2 separate regions of the Homo sapiens genome follow, and region 1 is linked to region 2. Evidence: promoter capture Hi-C in human tissues and cell types (Jung and others, 2019). All regions are on one chromosome and are shown on one strand. Each heading gives the region's core, a stretch centred on a gene start or on the middle of the fragment in contact. The rest is flanking DNA. Distances are from core to core; before and after follow the strand shown. Region 1 has its middle 74 kb from the start of ZP4. Region 2 holds the start of ZP4 (zona pellucida glycoprotein 4).

Region 1 (7,249 bases), core at 2,161-4,660, 75 kb before region 2:
GTTTTGTTTTGTTTTAAGACAGAGTCTCGCTGTGTTGCCCAGTGTGGAGTGCAGTAGCAAGATCTCAGCTCACTGAAACCTCCACCTCCCAGGTTCAAGTGATTCTCCTACCTCAGCCTCCTAAGTAGCTGGGATTACAGGTGCCCACCACCGCACCTGGCTAATTTTGTATTTTTAGTAGAGATGGGGTTTTACATTATTGGCCAATCTGGTCTTGAACTCCTGGCCTCAAGTGATCTGCCTGCCTTGGCCTCCCAAAGTGCTGGGATTACGGGTGTGAGTCACTGCGCCTGGCCAGATTTAGGGTTTTTTATTTTCACTTCTACTATGTGCTGCTTATAAGAGAGACACAGAAAGTTTGAAGGAAAAAAAAAACCAAACAGAAGATTTATTATGTAAACACTTATCAAAAGAAAGATCACGACTCTACCAATATTAGATAAGTACATTTTAAGGGAAGAAGTATTGTTAAGTATCAAAAAAGATGGTTTATAATGGTCAATTCTAAATAAGGATATAACAATCTGAAAATTGTAATCACCAAATAACATAGCCTATAATACATTAAGTTAAAATAACACAACTTAAAAGAAGTAGACAAATGTACATTTCTAGTTAGAGATATTAACACACTTCTCTTAGAAACTGACAGAAAATAGATAAGTCAGAAGAGACACAAAATTAAAACAATTAACATACATGCTATGATTAACATATTGTAAAAGAAAAATGAATCTTGGGACCCCAAAATCACTAGGCCAAGGGAAAGTCAAGCTGGGACCTGTGTCGGGCAAAACTGTCTCCCATTTTATTCCTAAAAAAAATAGCTAAAAGATAAAAAAAAAAAAAAAAAAAAAAAAAAAAAAAGAAAAGAAAAAGCTACATAACTCCTTCACAATTTGCCCACAAGATCTTTACCGTAAAAAAGTTCTGTTGGATTTTCCCCCGCAATGTAAAAATTGGTAGCTTATCTTCACAGGTGCGGGACAAGGGACAGAACTCAAAGTCATCCCCCTGCTCACCTGAGACAAATGCCTGTCACATTGTTTCCTCTACCCTATTGTTTATATAAAAATTTACATCATTCACTGAGATTCACTCTGATTCACTGAGCCACACTAGGGCATAAGTGATTATTTCTCTACCCCTCCCACATGTAAATTGTGTATTTAGTGAAAGGCTGGCCAAAGACCCCAAAAAATGCAGCCTTCTGTCTCTTATCTACTTACCGCCTAGAAGACCCCCACTTCAAGTTGTTCTGCCTTTGTGGACTGAACCAATGTATATCTTACACATATTGATTGATGTCTCATGTCTCCCTAAAATGTAACCCAAATATACAACCAAGCTGTACCCCAGCCACCTTCGGCATATGTTGTCAGGACCTCTTGAGGCTGTCAGGGGCACGTCCTTAATCTTGGCAAAATAAACTTTCCAAATTGATTGAGACCTGTCTCAGATACTTTTGGGCTCATAAAAGAAAAGAACACCGAACAGCTGTCAAATACACCTTCTTTTAAAATATACACAGAACATTTGCTGAAGTTAGCCATAAATGGGGCCTAAACCAAGCCTCAAAATATTCAGTATTGAAATCTCATAGATTATTTTTTCCAAGCATAGTGGAATAAGCTAGAATTCAATAACAAAAAGGTAGCCAGAACATCTTCAAATATTTGGAAACCAACAATCTTAGATATGGGTCATAGAAAAAAATCACAATGAAAATTACAAGGTATTTTTAACTAAATACTAGTGTAAGTAAGACATACCAAAACTTGTGGACTGCAGCTTAACCCATGCTTTCTGGAAAACTTGTAGTTTTAAATAAAAATATTATTAAAGAAGAAAGACTGAAAAATCAATGCACTAATAATTCAACTCCAAAAGCTAGAAAATAAACAGCAAATGTAAAACAGAGAATGTAGGATCAATAAAACAATAAAGAAAATAAATAGAAAACAAACATACAACAGAGAAAAATAGAAACGGAGTTTCATTAAAACTAATGTTGTTTCTTTTCAAAGGTATATAAAATGTATAAACCCAAACAGGACTAAACAAAAAAAAGAAAGAGAGTATAAATAATCTCAAGAATGAAAAGGAGGCCATTCCTAAGATCCCAGAGACATTAAAAAGAAATCAGAAAAGAGAACAACTCTTCTTTGCAGAAGAATTCCATATAATATATGTACATACTGCCCCTATGGACAGTGAAGCTTAATTCTCTTCTTTTTCTCTTTTTAACTTTTAGGTTCAAGGGTACAAATGAAGGTTTGTTACACAGGTAAACTTATGTCTCGAGGGTTTGTTGTAGAGATTATTTCACCACCCAGGTATTAAGCCTAGTACCCAACTGTTATCTTTTCTGCTCCTCTCCCTCCCCTGACCCTCCTGGGGTCAAGTAGACCCCAGTGTCTGTTGCTTCCTTCTTTGTGTTCATAAATTCTTATCATTTAGCTCCCATTTATAAGCAAGAATACAATCATATTTGGTTTTCTGTCCCTGCGTTAGTTTGCTAAGGATAATAGCCTCCAGCTCCATCCATGTTCTCCTTTTTTAGAAGGTAGGCAGGACTTAATGACTCAATTCCAAAGAACAAAATATAGAAAGGGAAAAAGAGTAATTCTACAGTGAAGAAGCATGGCAGACACCAAACTAATTTGTCAAAAATTACAGAAATAGCCAGCACATTAACTCAAATATGTTACTTAGCAAAGCCAAGACCCCCCAGATCATGCCTACGTTACTACAAGAAATAAATGTATTTTTCACATTATTAATTTGCCTCCTACAGAATATTTTCTTTGCTATAATATCTCCTAGTCTTTGATCTTCTTTTTCTTCTGTTCCTTATAAAACTGTACAACTGAAACATAAACAGTACCTACAAAATTATTGAGGTAGGTTGCAAAAGGTGGCCCTAAATGCTTCCCATCCCTGTAAGCACAGTTCTTTACAGTGTGATTTCTGTAGTTTCTCCCACCAAGGGTTGGACTCTATTTCTCTTCCACCTGAATGTAGGCTTGGCCCTTATCCTGACTTGGCCAGTGAGACAATAGCAAATATAAGCAGAGACTTGGAACCTTGAAATCATCATGTGAAAGGTCTAAATTAGCCTGCTGAAAGAGGAGAGGCCTTATGCAGCAGTGATAGGCTGCCTCAACTGAGGCCTCCTCTTGGGATCAACCAGTCTCTGAATGCCATATGTGTGGGCGAGGCCACTGGACACTATCAAGCCCCAGTTGAACCAGTCTTGACTACAAATCTATAACAAATGCTTATTATTTTAAGCCACTAAGTTTTGGAATGGACTGTTAGACAACAAAAGGTAACTGATACAATCATATTTTCTGCTTTTTATCTCCTTTGAGATAGTCATTACAAAAAAAAATTCTATCAATCAGATTCCCACTATTATGGTTTCTTTACTACACATCTGTGAGTATAGCCATATTCCAGAGTTTAGGCCCAATCCTGACCCCAAATGTTGACATAAGTCCTAGAGCAATTATGCACATGCCCAGCATTGAGTTAGTCTTGTCACAGGTCTTCTCCAGATTTGGGGGCCTCTGCTTCTCGAAGCCCCTGGTTCATTGCCTCGGAGTCAGTCCTTGATTGAAGTAATTTCATTAAATGTCCTAAATACATCCCTATGCCAAGAACTATGCTTGAGGGTAAAGACACAAAGAATAAGACACAACTCTGCTCTTGAGAAGGTATTGAGATGGTGTTGAGATGGAGCAGGGACCCCTCTTAGAGGCTTGCCAGGGCAAGGAGGCAAGCAAGGAAATAAAGGAAAAACTTGAGTTCCTTCAAGGAAATTCCAGGCACCTAGCCAGCTCCGAGAAGTAAATGAGCAACCTGATAAGCAAGAAAGTAATAATAGCTTAAAACAATAGCCAAGGAAGCTAGAATCACAAAATGTTTGGTTCCCTATAGAAACTAAAGATAGGTGGCCATGGTGACATGCACCTGTAGTCCCAGCTACTCAGGTGGCTGAGGTGGGAGAATTGCTTGAGTCCAGGAGATCGAGGCTACAGTGAGTCGTGATTGCATTGCACCACTGCACTCCAGCCTGAGCAACAGAGTGAGACCTTGTCTCAAAAAAAAAAAAAAAAAGAAAAAAAAAAGAAAAAGAAACTAAAGATAAAAATCTAACATCCCTGAGTTGTTTTTCAGAAACCTGGACCCCCACCAAATTGATTCACTGGCACACAGACCTCACGTGAGAGGGAACTGAAGACTGAACTCTGACTGCCTTTCTTTGTTCTAAATTTCTTCCTGAGGGGCCTGGTGGAAGTCACACCCGTAGAACAGACCTTAATATTCTTTTCTGCTGACCTCAAGATTTTAGACAAAGCTTCATTTCCTTAACCAATCACAAATCAGAGAGTCTTTGAATCCACCTATGACCTGGAATACCCCCTCTTGACTTCAAGATATCCTACCTTTTAGGCCAAACCAATGTATAATCTCCATGTATTGGTTTATGATTTTGCCTGTAACTTCTGCTTTCCTGAAATTTACTCCTGACTATAAAAACCATTGCTTGCCAGCCATCGGGGATGTCGGGACTTAAGCATTAGCTGCCTGATTCTCCTTGCTTGGCACCCTGCAAATAAATGCCCTCCTTTCTCCCACTGCAAAATCTTGGTGCTGCTTGTTTGGCTTTCCTGTGCCTGGTGAGTGAGCAGACCCCAGTTCCGTTTGGTAACAGTGTCTGGACAGACAAGTATACCAAGAGGCAAAATTGAGACAGTATTGCCTAGCAGAAGGCAATATTTAACTAATACCTCAATTCATCACTGACAGACTTTTGCCTGTTTGTCAGAGACTCTGCCTGTCATCTGGGTAAACCAGGCTGTTGTGCCTATGGACACAACCTTCTCACACTGCTGATCTGCCTGCCTCCACTAGCTGCTTGCTCTTTGAAGCTTTAAAATCACAAGCTTCCCTCTGTCCCTGCTGGGATAAAGGTCCTGGGTCTGAGCTTAGTTTGACCCCATTAACTAAGGTACTCATGCCCTCCTGCTTTCCTCCTCGAGGTATGATCTATGTTATCTGAGGCCTCCCACTGGATTTTTTTTTTTTTTTTTTTTTTGAGAGGAGTCTCACTCTGTCACCCAGGCTGGAGTGCACTGGCACGATCTCAGCTCACTGCAACCTCCACCTCCCGGGTTCAAGCAATTCTCCTGCCTCAGCCTCCTGAGTAGCTGGGACTACAGGCACATGCCACCACGCCCAGCTAATTTTTTTTGTATTTTTAGTAGAGACTAAATTGACCAGCCAATTTACCATATTGGCCAGCCTGGTCTCAAACTCCTGACGTTGTGATCCTCCTGCCTTGGCCTCTCAAAGTGCTGGGATTATAGGCATGAGCCACCGCGCCCAGCCCTCCCTCTGGATTTACATCCTAGTTTCCTCTTCGTGGTGTTGAAGCAGTGTCATTGTCTGGGGTAATAGCCACGGTTCATTGTCCCATGGCCATGAAAACTAGGACACAGACACACCAGAGTGAAGTTAAGAGCAGAAGCTTAATAGACAAAAGAAAAGCAGCCCTCTCTGCTGCAAAAAGAGGGGTCCCAGAGAAAAATGGGTTGCTAGTCCTGTGGTGAAATGCATGGGGTTTTACAGAGAGCTTGAGGAACTGGTTTCTGATTTACATAGGGGAGGAAAGATGGGTTGGACCAGGTGTGCCATTTGCATAGCACACAAGAATCTGGCCACCCCCACCCTAATCTTTTATTATGTAGACGGGCTTTCTACCTGGTGGGCACCATGTTGTCTGTTCCTTACTACACACATGCTGACAAAGAAAAAGGAAGACGAAGCCTCCATGTTGAACATGCCTGGCTTCCAGGTAGCCCTTTCACATTGGCACAGCTGCCAGCATTCACCTGTGCAAGCTTCCAGCTCGCTTATCTATTGTCTGCAGCTTGATGTATCAGTCTGCTTTTCATTAGAAAAGAAATAATTTGGGGGCTGCTTTTTATTAAAGGGAAGCTCTGCCGAGGACTCTCTTACTCTCACTCCTCTGCCTAAATAATTTCTTTTGAGCTCCTGCATCAGTGTGACCCCAGCCGATCTCAACCCAGCCCCATGTGTCTGCCTGGATATCTGACTACCTACTTTACCAACAACTCTGGTTCCCTCCCAGTCTAACTCGGAATCCCTGTGCCATCTGCCTCCTTCTCGTGCTATTTGTGGGCACAGCCTCAGACTTTCCATTGCTCCCCACTTAGGCTCTCCCTTATGTACTCCTTCTCTCACTATTTTATGCACTCTATTGCACTGCTTTCCTCTCTTTTAATGCCTTGACCTACCTCATCACTACTGTGATTACTGTAAATATCCAAATTAGAAAATATAATCCCAATATGAATTGGGGCAGAATAACCAAGTCAGTCTATATTGATCAAAATCATTTCTTAAAATGTATTTGTAAGAGAACAAATGATAATTTCAATTGATATTAGAACACCTTTCAGTTTTCTAAATAACAAGAAGATGTGAGAGGATCGTCAGCCTCCCAATGACACATTTATTTGAGGATAATTAAAAGGACAATAGAAGGCAGGGAAGAGCTGGAAACTGGTGCCATGTCACTGCCACCTTTAGCCTTAGTGGTGACAGTGGAACATGTAGTTGTTAACTCACTGCCTCAGAATCTCCTGTCCAGTCCTTTCCATTCTCTGGAAAGCCTGATTAAAACACAGGTGGAAAATGAAGCACTAATGACAAGAATATCTACTACCAGAGCAAGCAAGCAAGCAAACAACAATAAAAAAATCCAATGACTGGTGAAAGCCAGGGTTGTTGTTTAGTCAACAGACAACCTTGAGGGGACATTGGACTCCTATGCAGAACTCAGATTATTTCCCTGGGGATCCCTGAGTCCTGGAAATGCTATCATTAATCACCCTTAACCCACACAACCTCATTTTTCTCATAGTAGCATGTGTAAATAAAACGAAAACCTTCCCTGAAGGCAAACATAATGGCTCCCCATTAAAATGAGACTGCTTGGCCTAAACAAACAGTGCACTGGGTATCCATAATTCTGCATGAAATGACAATGATTTTTTGAAACAGCTGGGGTGCAGTAAGATCATTATTGGGCTGTATTTAATAATTCTAAATGTTAAATGGAGTCCAGGCTCCCCAGAAGCCAACTTAAATTGGTTAAAAAAACAAAAAGTCAGGGTTAGAAATAACTGATTTGGGCATATTATGCATAACTTCTGCT
Region 2 (6,637 bases), core at 2,024-4,523:
CCCTGCTCCAGTCACAGCGGGGCAATCACTGTTAATGTCAGATGAGGAGTCTGTACTCAATGGCCAGAAAGCATTGTACTACAGCTCCATGCTATCCAAACCTTGTGGGGTGATGTCCCTATTCTGCAGTTTAAAATGAAACACTCAAATGTAAATATGACCAGATTGAAGAAGGTTTTTGGAAATCACCGTTTGCCTTTCCCCAATCACACAGGTTGCCCTCATGACCTGAGTGGCCAGATCACTGAATGAGGAATGGGCAGCTTCAGTGAATGAGGAATGGGCAGCTTAGCTTCAGTGCAGGACTCCCAAGTACTTTGGTAAGGAACACAAGGGGAATCCTTAAGCCCGCCTATAAAATGTGGGTTGCATGAATACTACCATGACTATGGGGCTTTTGATAAGTCTGTACACATTAGGATGCCTCATAATCTGTTCGTAATGGCTCTGAAACAATTTTTAAATGACTGGGTGATTCTGACATAAGACAAAGAACAGCATTTGCCCTTTCACATTCAAAGGACAGAGCATTCATGTTGTGATAATAGTGGATAGGATGTTTTTTCTGTTAAGCCTGGGGCTCCTCGAGGTGGATCACACATTATCAGTGCATTTTCTCATCCCGAAATTAAATGATGATGTTCTTGGAAGATTCAGCAGAGGAATGAGCATAACATTACCTAACCCCAGACCTGCCTGCATTATCTTGGCATCCATCTTTGACCCTCTGCAGCATCAGAGAGATGGGTGTGATCCTAGGTGGACTTCAAGATAGCTCCACATAGTTCCAGGCTTGTGTGATTTTTCAACTTCATTATGTAAACACAGGACCTCATTTGGGAATGCAGCCTCATGAGTATAGGCTGTTCCTCAGACTCCCTGCAGATCCAATGAGTGCACTGCTTGGCATTTGCTTTCCATTTGCCACCCATCTCACCTTTATCTCCCAGGCTGGTCCTGTTGATGTTAGTGACAATGTAGCAATTATGCAACAAGCATTGTACATACATTATTTCATCTAACCGTCTGTTGTAATAATACTGTCCATGTTATTATCCCTATTTTACAGATATAAAAACTGTAACTGAGAGAAAGAGGTTAATACATTGACAGAGGTTGCAGAGTAACAGTCAGAATTTGTACCCAAGTCCACCCATTGTCAAAACTCACATGATATACTATACTATATTGCCTCCAAGTATGAGCAAAGGAAGTTACGCTCCTTGACTTTTCACCACTTTATAAAGCTGTTGGGAACAGGCCCCCCAAAATCTGGCCATAAGCTGGCCCCAAAACTGGCCATAAACAAAATCTCTGCAGCACTGTGACATGTTCGTGATGGTCGTGATGGCCATGATGCCCACGCTGCAAGGTTATGGGTCTACCGGAATAAGGGCAAGGAACCCCAGACCCACCCAGGATGGAAAACCGCTTAAAAGTGTTCTTAAACCACAAATAGCATGAGTGATCTGTGCCTTAAGGACATGCTCCTGCTGCAGATAACTAGCCAGAGCTCATCCCTTTATTTCAGCCCATCCCTTTGTTTCCCATAAGGAAGACTTTTAGTTAATCTATAATCTATAGAAACAATGCTTATCACTGGCTTGCTGTCAGTAAATATGTGGGTAAATCTCTGTTCGAGGCTCTCAGCTCTGAAGGCTGTGAGACCCCTGATTTCCCACTCTACACCTCTATATTTGTGTGTGTGTGTGTGTCTTTATTCCTCTAGCATCCCTGGGTTAGGGTCTCCCCGACTGAGCTGGTCTCAGCATAAAGCAATATTAGTAAGTCTAGTCAGGAGACTGGCCTTTTAACTCCTGAGACATCTTGCATGAGTCAAATCCTCAGATTCTTTCTTACATGTGCAATCACATGATATTTACTTGAAGGAAAAATACCTAAGGGTTATGAGTTTGAGCTCATCATAAAGGAAATGAATTTGTACCGGTGAGGTTTGGAAACTACATTTTCAAGGGGGTTAGCCCTAGGACATGGCCACTAATGAAAGCATATTCATTGATTCAGTCTTTACTCAGAGAACACTGAGTACATACATCCAAGGCACGCAGGATGCAGTGACAAATAAAAAAGTCCCTGGCCTCACGTGCTTCTAGTGGCAAACTGAATAAGAAAGAGGTCATTACAATCCAACCTGGCAAATCCTGTGAGTAAATGGCATGTAATAACCCAGTGGTGAGCACCTAATCCAGGTAGACGGTGTCAGGGAAGCCACATCTGTCTTTGAGGGCAGAGTCCAGCTTTCCTTCAATGTCATTTTTCATCATGTGGTTAAAAGGGCCACCAATTTTCCCAGGAAGACACATACTTATTTGTCCTCTGTGATGAGTTGAAGAGAACTAGAGATACCTAGTTACACATTCTCAGTGCTTTGACTACAATTTTTAGTCAACCGAAAAATATCAGTCTAAATACAATCAGGGTACAATTTGGGAATATTGGTGGCAGACTGCAGAAGACAAGTTTCCATGCTCTTGCCTCTCCAGTGGGGAATGTATCCATTTATCCCCAAATCTCTTAGAATTTCTCTACAATCTGGTCTGACACTCTAGCTTAAAGAGTGACCAAAGTATATAACTTGTAGTTTATGTGGAAAACAAAAATGTAGAAAGCAAGCAAGAAACCCTGACATCTTTATGAAATATGCCTGAAACACAGCCGAAAGATAAAATTGTCAAATAGCTGTAAGAGGCAGAACCAGTTTGAGGAATTCATGGCCTAATCCACATTTCCCCCAGATCCTGTGGGGAAACACTGTAGGACAGTTATGGCAATGAACCACTTTGGAATTTGTTGAAAGATTGCTGTGGTAGGATTCCCTCTAAGGACCAGGAAAGGGTTCAAAATCAACCTTTCTCAGGAAATAAGTTTAGATTTTTTTCTAGAATTTCAAGACAGGCTCTAATCGTACAGAAACTTTTCTAGAATGGATGGAGAAGGTGACAAGGCTTCTCAAGGGCCCCAACTCTCACCCGACAATGTTGACTGAGCACTCACTGCTTGGCCAAGCACTGTGCCAGGCACCTGACATAGAATCTCTTGCTTAATCCTCAAGCACACCACTGCCAGGAGATAGCATTCCCATTTTACAGATGAGAAAACCAAGATTCAGAGAGTTTGTAACGTACCCAGACCCCATAGTTCATAGATGGTAGTTTCACACCCAAATGTGCAAAATTCTAGAGGGAGGTCTTCTGAAGTCAATAAGTTCAATAAACTGGTGGGACAAATGCTATGTTGAGCAACCCTGAGGAAGCTTTCTTTCCTTCCTTTCTGTTAGCTAAAAGTTACTACATTTTTCTTGGGCTCTGAAGTCTGCCTGGATTGTGGTATTTAATGTGAGGCAGCTGCAGACTGTGCCCCAAAGCAAATGAGGCTAGAGGAATTCCCCTTTCTGAAGGCATCCCACCTGAGTGTCACAAAGATGTGCAGCTGAAAACAAGCCTGACTTCTGTATATAAAGGAATCTGGGCAGGCAGACCCTCGGCTCTTGGGAGAGGAGGCGGAGAGTCTGCAGCCGGCAGGAACTCCTGGTAGCATTATGTGGCTGCTGCGGTGCGTTTTGCTGTGTGTTTCATTATCTCTTGCTGTGAGTGGCCAGCATAAGCCTGAGGCACCAGATTATTCCAGTGTGCTCCACTGTGGGCCGTGGAGCTTCCAGTTTGCTGTAAACCTCAACCAGGAGGCAACGTCTCCTCCTGTACTAATAGCTTGGGGTAAGTTTGATGACTTGCCTTGCTTAGCCAAGCAATGATATGTCTCCTCTACTACCTAAGATGTCTCCCTATCTTCCCGTATTGATACTTTCACCTTCTGAGCCCTGTTGCATCTTTCTGCAAAAGAAATAGTCTAAGTTATAACTACATCTGATCTGAATCTGATTTCCCTCTTGTTCCTCTTATTGACAGTTGCTCCTTGGGGTCTAATGGCAAGGCTGACTATCCTTTCTGGCACTGGAGACTGACCGCTGTGTTTTCTCACCTCTTCCCCACCCCTCCAGACAACCAAGGGCTGCTGCACGAGCTGCAGAATGACTCCGACTGTGGCACCTGGATAAGAAAAGGTCCAGGCAGCTCCGTGGTGTTGGAGGCAACCTATAGCAGCTGCTATGTCACTGAGTGGGTGAGTATGACCCAATGGCCAGGGAGACTGTGTGAAGCGCCTCATGCTACCATCCAGGCTGACCCCCAAGGGCCTGTCTCTCCAGGACTCCCACTACATCATGCCAGTTGGAGTTGAAGGAGCAGGCGCGGCTGAACACAAGGTGGTTACAGAGAGGAAGCTGCTCAAGTGTCCTATGGATCTTCTAGGTAAAGGCTGGAAGCTCTCAGGGTCTTGTGGGGGTGGTGGGGGTGGGGTGTGAAAGTACTCTTGGTCCTCTCTGACCTGCTCTGTGCAGTGACACCTGACACTAATGAAGGAAGGATCATGTCCCAACTCTCACCTCCATGGGCAATCCTTAGGATAACTACCAATTGAGACTCCTCAATGCCAAGGCACTGTGGGTAAGCACTTCAGGTGTTACCTTCCCTAACCCTAACATAGTGCTGCAAATACTACTGCTGGCCAGGCACAGTGGCTCACACCTGTAATCACAGCACTTTGGGAGGCTGAGGCAGGTGGATCAGGTCGGGAGTTGGAGTCCAGCCTGACCAACATGGAGAAACCCCATCTCTACTAAAAACACACAATCAGCCGGGTGTGGTGGTACATGCCTGTAATCCCAGCTACTCGGGAGGCTGAGGCAGGAGAATCGCTTGAACCTGGGAGGCTGAGGTTGTGGTGAGCTGAGATCGTGCCCTTGCACTACAGCCTGGGCAACAAGAGCGAAACCCTGTCTCAAAAAAAAAAAAAAAAAAAATACAACCTATCTCTTGCCAGGAAGTTTTCCCAAGGGCCTATCACTGGTGAATGACTGAGCTGGGATTCAAAGAACTCTCCCAGAACCAGGAGCTTTTCACCCATGGGGAGAATGATAGGAAATAAAACTGAAGCTAGCAAGGGAACTTGGAAAAATACCTCCACAGAGCTAGATGTGCACTGAGACTAGGACCCAGGTCTTCCATCCCACAAGCTGGAGGGGTATCTGAGCATTTCCCTAAGGAAACAGCAGGAAGTATGATGCCTACTCAACTTTAGAAAGTCTCGCCTGACTGAGAGCCCGTCCTCAAAGTCAGAACAGACTCAAACTATAAATTCACTCTTCTCACCTGCCTTCCTTCCCAATACATAGCCAGGATGGGCAGCACTAATAAAATGAGGAATCATAGGCCCCACCCCAGTTCTGAACCAGACCTGAACTCAAAAACAATCTTCAGATAACTCATATCCAAACTAAGGCTTGAGAAACGCCTCTAAAGAACAGAAGGAAGGATTGTTACTGGAAGGAGTAAGAAACCCCCCAACTGCTTCTACCAATTTTGTTGACATTCTTGTTTTTAAAAAACTAATAGCAGGGCACTCTTACAAGGTGACTTAATGTTGACAACCTCCCAAGACTTAATCTACAACATGTAACCTCTCAATACTATCTACAATATGGAGTAGACACCTATTTCAATCATCTACATATCTACAGGAATCCAAAGTCAATGACTTGTATCAAAATGGTATTCAAGACTAACTTTTCCATTATCTAACCTGACTTACTCTTTTTCAAAACCTAGCCCGAGATGCTCCAGATACTGACTGGTGTGACTCCATCCCAGCACGGGACAGACTGCCATGTGCACCTTCACCCATCTCTCGAGGAGACTGTGAAGGGCTAGGCTGTTGTTATAGCTCTGAAGAGGTGAATTCCTGCTACTATGGAAACACTGGTGAGTAAGTGAGCACACCTCTGAAACCAGCTGAGGAAGTGTGGCAATTACAATGAAACCCAGAGAGGGGTTTGCTCAGAAGGCAAACATCAAGTGATAGCAGGCTGCCATGTAGCCATGCATCCAAGAACACTTGATCCCAATGTAACAGACTTCTACAACTCCCACTGTCCATTCTCCCAGAATCCAGATATAAAGTCAATAACGCTCAGACTTGAAGGCTATGTGCCAGATAATTGCTAGTGCCAGATAACTTCTAACTGACAGAAACTTATAGCGACTTTGGCTGATGGTCTTGGATTGTTTAGGGAGAGTCACTTCAAGGCTGTTGCTTTCTGCTTGTCTCTAATCCTGCTCTGAGGTTTTCTAACATAAACTTGACCTCAGAGTATGTATAGGTTGGTACAGGAGGAATCCCGGCTTTTGCCATTGTGGCAAAGGCTGCAATTACTTCTCTACCAACCTAATAATCGCACACGCTATTCCAAGATCTTAATCTTAACTGACAAGCAAAATGAGGTAGGAACTACTATCCCCCTCTTAACACATGAAACTGAAGCAAGGAGGTGCAATACTTGCCTGAGGTCACACAATAAGTCAGGGAGGCAAGACTCAACCCCAGATCATTTAGAGCCTGGGTTAAACTGTGGTTGGTTGATCTTGCACTGAGGTTGTCACTGGGAAGTTGTCACCAGCTTCTCAGTGGGATTAAAAGTAACTAAGTGGTTAGACTTTCATCTGGTTCTCCCCACAATGGGAGAGATGACCTGCCTTCAGCACAGCTGCTCTGTTTCAGTGAC

The links. The method cuts DNA at HindIII sites, captures the fragments that hold promoters and counts their contacts. A contact is called where the count stands out against the background at its distance.
Region 1: a fragment that was not itself captured here is called in contact with the fragment with the promoter of ZP4 in region 2 in 2 of the 25 tissues and cell types used here (adrenal gland and pancreas).

What each region holds. Positions count from the first base shown.
Region 1 is chr1:237,961,644-237,968,892 of GRCh38, reverse strand. No RefSeq gene overlaps it. Among named protein-coding and RNA genes, the nearest start is that of ZP4, 74 kb to the right of the region's middle. The HindIII fragment of the contact is 4,627 bases long and covers 1,097-5,723 here.
Region 2 is chr1:237,887,558-237,894,194 of GRCh38, reverse strand. ZP4 (zona pellucida glycoprotein 4) reads left to right here and starts at 3,273. Exons shown (of 12, transcript NM_021186.5): 1 at 3,273-3,734; 2 at 4,019-4,140; 3 at 4,226-4,328; 4 at 5,685-5,837; 5 at 6,634-6,637. The coding sequence starts at 3,560. It also overlaps the pseudogene LOC100130331. The HindIII fragment of the contact is 12,268 bases long and covers 1-6,637 here.